Linked DNA regions of Homo sapiens: region 2 is linked to region 1. The links are contacts of gene promoters, found by promoter capture Hi-C in human tissues and cell types (Jung and others, 2019). All regions are on one chromosome and are shown on one strand. The core of a region is centred on a gene start or on the middle of the fragment in contact, and the rest is flanking DNA. Distances in the headings are between cores, read along the strand shown.

Region 1 (3,983 bases), core at 1,281-3,780:
AACAGTATTTTTAAAAGAGAAGCATGATTTTTCTCTAGAAATATTTTTGGCTAATAACTTGGTTCATTTTCTTAGTGTTTATTAGGATAAGTTCTACAGTTTCTATTATTTTCTTTTTTGAACTTGCTAAAATCATGGAGAAAGTCTTAATTGTCCTCACTATGCGAGGTCCTTCTAGAGGCCGAACTGTTCTGACATAACTGTGTCCTATCCCTTTCTTGAGTCAGGAGTTTCAAAACTTTACTTCTAGTAGCTAGCTATTTTGATAGACCTACTCAGCACATAGTTGTCTCAAACCTACTTTTTCTAAAATCTGGCCACCTTCCAAGATCAAAAGTTTATAGAATTCCCCCACTCTTCAATTTGTATACATCTTATATTCATGAACCTGCCATCTGCATTTCTGCTATTTTTGAAAAGCTGAACTGGACAGTAGAGGTCAGAAGTTCCATGAACTGCCAAACTGCTATAAGCAGTCACTTGGGAACCTAAACTCAGACAAGCAAAATGGAGAAGTGAGTCTAACACACGTCACCAGGTAGCAGGTTCATATGTTGCCTATTGTGAAGGCTGGGATCTCCAGGGTTTTCATTATGCTAGGTTATCAAGGTCTGAGGTAGTGTGCTTGATAGTGAAGACTATAGAGTCAGACTATCTGGGTTCAAATTCCAGCTCTGTCACTGTTCTAGGTGTCTATTGCTATGTAACAACCACCCAGATGACAATCTTTTATTATTATCACTTACGTTTCCGGGGCCTGATTTGGCTCAGCTAGGTTTTCTCTCTAGGTCTCTCAGGCAGCGTGGTCAGTGACTGTGGCTGGAGTTCTTTCAAAAGCTCGCCAACTCACATGCTTGATATAAGTTGTACTGGCAGTAGACCAGGTCCTCAGCTGGCACCATCAGCCCAAACACCTACACATGGCCTTCCCTGTGGCTTGAGCTTCCTCACAATATGGCAGCTGGGTTCCAAGGGTGAGTGTCCCAAGGGAGAGCCAGGTGAAAACTTCATCTCCTTTTATGACCTAGGTTTGGAAGTCACATAGCATCACATCTGCTGTATTCTATTTGTTACAATCAAATCACTAAGTCCAGACCATATTCAAAAGGAGGGCAATTAATATCCACTCTCTAATGGGAGTCTTCAAACCACCATAGCCATGTATTCCCTGAAGACCTCTCTGTCCTTGGCTTTGCTGGTCTGTAAAACAAGGATAATGAGAGAAACTTACCTCAGAGCTTTTTGTGAGGATTAAACAAAGAACAGTCCCTGGTACCCAGTATGTGTTAGTTTCGCCCATTATCACACCACTTGTACATCTGAAGTGATGCTGATGGTGACATCAATGATGAGACAGTTCCCAGCAGATATAGTCTGTGAAGGTCCCACCTTTCCAAACTCTACTAGTGGCATTTAACAAATCCCAGCGCCTGTGGTTCTTATGCCAGTGGGAACAGTTACTATATATGGTCTGAATTCTTTGGTTCACCTCACTTTAGTGACAGTTTCCAGATACAGGTCAGTCCATTTAAACCTGGCCCATTTATGGCAATTTATTTCATTATAGGATAAAGTAGTTAGAACCATGAGTAATAATTACTGTGTCTACAGTGCTTTTAACACCTCAGCCAAGTAATCCTCATCTCACCCAGTGAGTAAGTTTGAATGCGCACCCTTCCCTGTGCGAGGATGAAGAAACCAGGACCTGGGTCAAGAGGATTGTTCTAAATTCTCCAATGAGGCAATAGGGCTTGAGTGAGAAGGTGTGTGTGTGTGTGTAGGGGGGGTGTCCTGATTCTCTGGCCCCTACATGCCTGTATAATATACCCCATCACTGATCATTACTCAGGACCTGTTAATACACTCTATTCAAATACGTATGGGTATTTGAAATTTCTTTTAAACTACCTCTCATGTATTTATAACACAAAGAATTGGCCAGTGTCTATTTCCCACAATGTGAGATTAAGTAATTTAAAAGATACTAAAAGTCTTGTAAATGAAGACACACCACACCACTCAGTATAATTTTTTTCTTTTTCTGTGAAACTAATATTTTCTGATATTCTCGGCATCCAAAAATTTTCATCTTGGGGAGGAGGAAAAATTGAGACTTACTCCCACTGTTTGCCGGAATGTGACCCCAGGCTGGCTTCGAGTTGTCAAATGTTGTATTTCTCATTTTATGTCAGTGAGTCTGGAAGCAAAAAAGGTAGAAAGACTGCCTTCCGTGGGGGCCGCGACGATCGCCCCTCCTTCCCTCAAGCCTCGTCCCATCCAGGCTCGCCCCGGGTGCGGAGGGTCGGGCCGCAAACCCGCAAGGCGCGGAGGCCGCCGCGACGCTCACCGGGGGGCGCTGTGAAGCCGGCACCGGGCGGACAGAGGTGAGTCGGCTCGGAGGCGGTGGCTCCCGTTCCTGCCCGCGCGCCGAGGGGCGAATCCCAGGCAGCGAGGTCGCCGCCCCCGCCCCTCGGCCGGCCCCTCCGCCAGCGGGCGAGAGGGGAGTGGCCGGGCTCCTCCCGCCGCCGCTGAGCACTCCGCAGCTGGGTGCGCACGGGAGCCTCAACCGCGGCGCGTGGAGGCAGTACCAGAGCGCGCGGCGCGCAGTCGGCCGGCAGCCGCGGGACAGCCTTGGCAGAACAGCCGCGGCGGGAGCCCCGCAGCCCCGGGCTGGGCCCGCGTCCCGGAGCGCCACCGGAGAGCGAGGACGACGTGGAGGCGGAGTGGCGCCCGGCGAGGTAGCGCCAGGCGAGGTAGCGCGAGCGCTTTCTCTCTCTCTCCCCTGCCCTTCCCTCTGCGTCCGTCGTCGGCCCCCGAGGCGCCTGCTCCGCGCCTTTGTGCCCGCGGTCCCTGGCCCCGTCGCACCCTGCGGGCGGGGGTCAGCGGGCTCTGCCGCTCTCTTGGGAGACGCGGCGCTGCGGCGGGAACGGCGCACGCTGTAGGTTGCGGAGGGTGGTCGTGACTCCGCAGTGGCTTCGGGGGTGGCGGGAGGGAAGAAGGGCTTGTAAACTAAGTTGCTCTTACTTTGCCCCATGCCTCTCGTACCTGTGGGCAGAGTCGAATCTCGGCTGTCCTCGTGTTCACCCACAGCCCCTCCATTCCTCTGGCCCACAGCTGTTTCCTGGCCCCCTGGAAAGACACGGTGTGGCTTCCTCCGGGCAGGAAAGCGGAGGGAGAACAATGGGGCGTCCTGGGGAGTGGGGTTCAGGTGCGGTGTGCCCCGGCGGCGGCGGGGGAGGAGGGGCCCGGGACGCTGTGGGCCTCCCTGCGCGTGCAGCTGCGCTCGCCTCCTTTGTTCCGCCGCAGCGGAGGGGGTTGCCCTGGGTCTCGTTTCCTGCCCGGGATGGGATTGATTCACGGTCCCAGAGAGGGAAGGGGAAGGGGGCGGGGCTGGAATGGAAACCAGATTAGAGACGGGAGCTACGAAGGGTGGTGGGGCCGGGAAGAGAGTTGGGGAGAGGGTTGGGAGAGGGTGATGAGAGCGCGCTGGAGAGGTAACTACAAACACACAACATTTTGTTCAAGGGCCATGTGAGTTTCTAGAGCTTATTTGTAGTGCTTTGTTCAGGCTTCGGCCCAGCGTTTATTGCTGCAACAAGTTGTGTGCTTCTTGAGTTTCTAGGCGTTCCCAATGTTAGATTGCTCAAAGCAAATCTTCTTAGTTACAGTGAAAGAAGCCCCCCCCCCTTTTTTTTTGAGATTTGAAAAAATTTTGCTATGAACTATGGTATTGGTGTGTATGTGTGTGCCTCTGGGTCTGTGTGTGTAGCTAGTGGATATTGGCTGGAATGGGTAGGAGACAAATTTTATAGAATCAATTTTGACGTAAAATTGTTTTATAGTATAATATAGTACAACAGTTTTCCAGGACTGTTTGAGGGCAGAAACCACCAGAAAATTAGACATTGCTATAAATAAATGAATCAGACTATGTAACACAATTGAAAAACCCTTTTACAGTCTGTCCCAGGAAACACACCACA
Region 2 (3,984 bases), core at 622-3,121, 310 kb after region 1:
TGCCACTGCACTCCAGCCTGAGCAACAGAGTGAGACTCTTGTCTAAAACAAAACAAAAAACAAAAAAGATAGAGAATGCACTGAGCCAGAACACAGGAACTATCCTTCATGTGAGCAACTGGCCAGAATCTTTTTTTTTTTTTTAATGTGGAAATGTGGCTTGGTCCTCTCTTCAGATTTAACTCATTTGATCAATCTTATTGATCAAGAATGGACAGTTAGCTGTCATTCTCTTCCTTCCATACTAATGACAAAAAATAAGTCCTGATTCGACAAATTATTTGATCAGCACAAACTGTTTATTAACAAAGAACAGAGGACCACACGTTGTCTTTCTCCTGCTTTCCTGTGTCTGTAATAGAGTGGCGCGAAGACAAACACATTCCTGGATCTGTCAGCTTCACCTGACTTGACTCTGGAATTCTCAGTAAGCCTATCTGCTTAAACCACAGTCTCTCAGCCTCAGTTGCTTGTTTGAATCACGGGGAGCTCTGGAAGCTCCTTGTACTCCAGCCATACTCCACACCAGTTACAGCATTATCTTTGTTGGGGGCAGGTGTGACCCAGGTATCAGTATTTTTTAATGATGCCTAAATGATTCCAGTAAGCAGCCAAGTTTAAGAATTGCTGCATTCTCAATCTTGGTGACATATTAGATTCACTTGGGGACCCAGACCAAGCTAGTCAGAATCAGAATTTTTTTAGTCCCCCAGGTGACTCTCATATGCAACCGGGGCTGATAGTTTCTGCCTTTATATAGTGATTCTCAAAGTATGATCACAGAGCTTGCATTAGGGGTACTCACTTTCCTTATTAAATATTTGGTTTCCAGCTCCACCCCAGACCTATTGAATCAGAAATAGGACTTCACTTCGTTTTGCGAGCTCTGCAGGTGATCCACATCCTCTTTAAAGCTTGAAATCCACCACCTGAAACTTCCTCTATCTCTGCTTGAAGATTCCTCAACTTCCACAAAGAAAGATTTATTCTTTTTACCTGAGGAAGACGGAGTTTATATTTCTGTGAAAGTGCAAATACAATGGCATAACATGCAAAATACATTAGGTTTGAATATGATGAACCTGATCAAGAAGAAAAAGGAATCAACCAAACAAAACCAACCAAAACAAACAAAAACAAGACATTGGGTAAAAAGAACAAGGTGCAGAACAGCTGGTATAGCATGTGCCTTTTTTAAACCATAAAAAGGAATAGTTGTATGAATATTCTGGGTAGCTGCTAGGAAGACCTTTTATAATATGTGTCATACACACATAATTCTTCTATTCAAAAATAGAGTAATTAAAAATGCAAACATTACAGAGAGAAGTCATATTAAGCCTCATTAATGTTAAAAGATAAACTGAGGCACATTAGAATATTAAGGAGTTTATTTGAGCAAACGATTCATAAATCAGGTAGCATCAGACTTCAGGTGGCTCGAGGCTCCACCAAGAGGGCAAGAGAAGGCTTTAAAAGGGTTAATTGGTGGCTCCTGAGTTTTAAAGCTGAAGTTGCATTTTCCTAGAATATGACCATTGATACTTGGGTTTCGGTTTGCTTCTGTAGGAATCCAGGGCCCTGGAGCTGGCTCAGCCTAATGGCCTCTCCATTAATTATCTTAGTTACTTATACCTAGAGTGAATCATTTTATCAAAAAAAATTTTCTGAACAGCTTTTGATTTGAGGAAGAACAAGTAGAATAAATGTCCTGAGGACTAGGGAAGCCAAAGAACGTGTGGAGGAGAGGCACAGGAAAGAATCTCAGAGCCTTGAAGTCGGCATTTGCCAACTTTACATTTTTGTTCAAGGTCAGTCTTGACCTTGATTTACATTCCCAAAGATGGAAACAAACCAGTGTGTGTTCTTCACCTGTCACCGACACTCGTTTAGAAAATAATTGGGGTCGTCCCGGCGCAGTGGCTCGTGCCTGTAATCCCAGCACTTTGAGAGGCTGAGGCAAGAGGATCGCTTGAGCCTGGGAGTTCGAGACCAGCCTGGACAACATACTGAGATCCCTGTCTCTACTAAAAATACAAAAATTAGCCAGGCGTGGTGGCGCGTGCCTGTAATCCCAACTACTGGGGTGGCTGAGGCACGAGAATCGCTTGAATCTGGGAGGCAGAGGTTGCCGTGAGCTGAGATTGTGCCCCTGTACTCCAGCCTGGGTGACAAAGCGAGACCCTGTCTCAAAAAAAAAAAAAAAAAAGAAAAGAAAAGAAAACAAGTGGGGGCGTCCTCACTTTCCCAGGCTCCCTCTAATTGTGTGTGGGGGTTGGGTGTTTAGCACTCACAAGCTTCCGCGAAATGCTGCCTCAAATTATCTTGTAGCCACCAGGTGGCAGCAGCAATCCACTTTTTGGTCTAACCTGGGAGAGGCTGAACTAGGATGGTTCTCCTTTAATTAGCGTACTGGCCATAGAATCGTGGACGTTTAGACATGAAAGAACCTTTCTCAAAAGTTCTGACAACTACAGATGTTTAAACGGAGAAAAAATAACAAACATATTAAGAACACTTCGTTGTTCACACAATAAATTTCATCTATTGAAGGGAAGAAAGGAAGTTGTAACATCTACAATGTGCTGGGCACTTTGTATGTTATCTCATTTGATTATCAGTACAACCTTGTGGGATGGATACCAATGCCTCTAATTTACCGTGGGGGAAACTCAAGTTGGGATAGGTTCAGACTTGTCTGATGTCTCAGAGAAGTAGGTAACAGAGGCATTTAAAAGTATCAGACACTAGTCAAAAGTCTTGGAGTTGAACCACAGCATGCTTTGGTGTGTGTGGGGTGGGATTGATCAGCCAAATGGCAGGATTTTGATGGTGAGGGAATATGGTTATTCTTTGAGGACCCTCTGTTTTATGGCCCAGTACTTGTGCTAGTCACAAAAAAGTAAGAGGATCAAGGGTGCCTTCTAAATTTGAACCATCTTGAATAATCAGGAGGAGCTTCTTGAAATTAGAGGAGTCTTAATCAGAGAGAGAATCATGCTCTGAAGAGGGGACAGAATGCTTATTTCTCTTTTTTCTTTTGAGACAGGGTCTCACTCTGTGGTCCAGGCCAGAGTGCAGTGGCGTGATCGTGGCTCACTGCAGCTTTGAGCTTCTGGGTTCAAGTGATCTTCCTACTTCAGCCTCCCAAGTAGCTGGGACAACAGGCATGCACCATCACGCCCAACTTATTTTTGTATTCCTTGTAGAGTCAGGGTTTCTCTGTGTTGTCCTGGCTGGTCTTGAACTCTTAGGCTCAAGCGATCCTCCTGCCTCAGCCCCTCAAGCAGTGGGATTACAGGCGTGAGCCACTGTGCCAAGCCAGAACACTTATTTTTCTAAGATAATATGAACCTGAAGTAAATGACAAATTTTAAGTCATGTAAAGTGTCAGGGGAAATATTTATTAGTGGGACGTTGCTCTATACTTGTTGCCTTCATAATTAAATAATACACTGAAGTCTCTACTTTTTAATAGTATCTCTTCCTTCTCATTAGACGAGATGAAGAAATTATCTTCTCACACTTTCCTGCACCTCTTTTCTCCATAATTTCCCAATTTGGGCTGGGTAAACTCTATTTTTATGTTGTCAAGGTTAGTAATTTACGTTCAGTCCTATAACTGTAAATAAGAGCTTTGGTGGTATAATTAAACAAAGTATTTGGTGAAGAACTGAGCGGTGTGGTTGGTCAGCAGGAAAGACATGTCATCCTCTGTGACTAACTTCATGTCCTTATAAGGACAATCATCAAGGTCAAATGCATCCTGTTCTCTAACATGCTCAAAATTAGGCAATGTTTGGTTTATTTGTGTGTGTACATGGCTTTCTTGCAAACATTTTTGTTTCTTTAAAGGTTGTATTGGCCTTACCTTATTTCAATTGTTAGAGGAAAATAGGCTCATTTGTCATATCACTAGGATATGCCCTCTTGACCATACTATTTATTGAATGGTGCAGTGTGGACTCCTTATGGCTTTGCTCT

The links. Contacts are between HindIII fragments. The study calls those that stand out against the background at their distance.
Region 2: a fragment that was not itself captured here is called in contact with the fragment with the promoter of MYO1B in region 1 in 1 of the 25 tissues and cell types used here (spleen).

Annotation. Positions count from the first base shown.
Region 1 is chr2:191,242,874-191,246,856 of GRCh38, forward strand. It overlaps MYO1B (myosin IB), which reads left to right and starts at 2,531. Exons shown (of 31, transcript NM_001130158.3): 1 at 2,531-2,753. It overlaps MYO1B-AS1 (MYO1B antisense RNA 1), which reads right to left and starts at 3,302. Exons shown (of 4, transcript NR_186085.1): 1 at 3,046-3,302; 2 at 747-1,200. RefSeq lists an enhancer at 2,417-3,039 and a silencer at 2,452-2,841. The HindIII fragment of the contact is 14,933 bases long and covers 1-3,983 here.
Region 2 is chr2:191,552,934-191,556,917 of GRCh38, forward strand. No RefSeq gene overlaps it. Among named protein-coding and RNA genes, the nearest start is that of NABP1, 120 kb to the right of the region's middle. The HindIII fragment of the contact is 3,966 bases long and covers 1-3,854 here.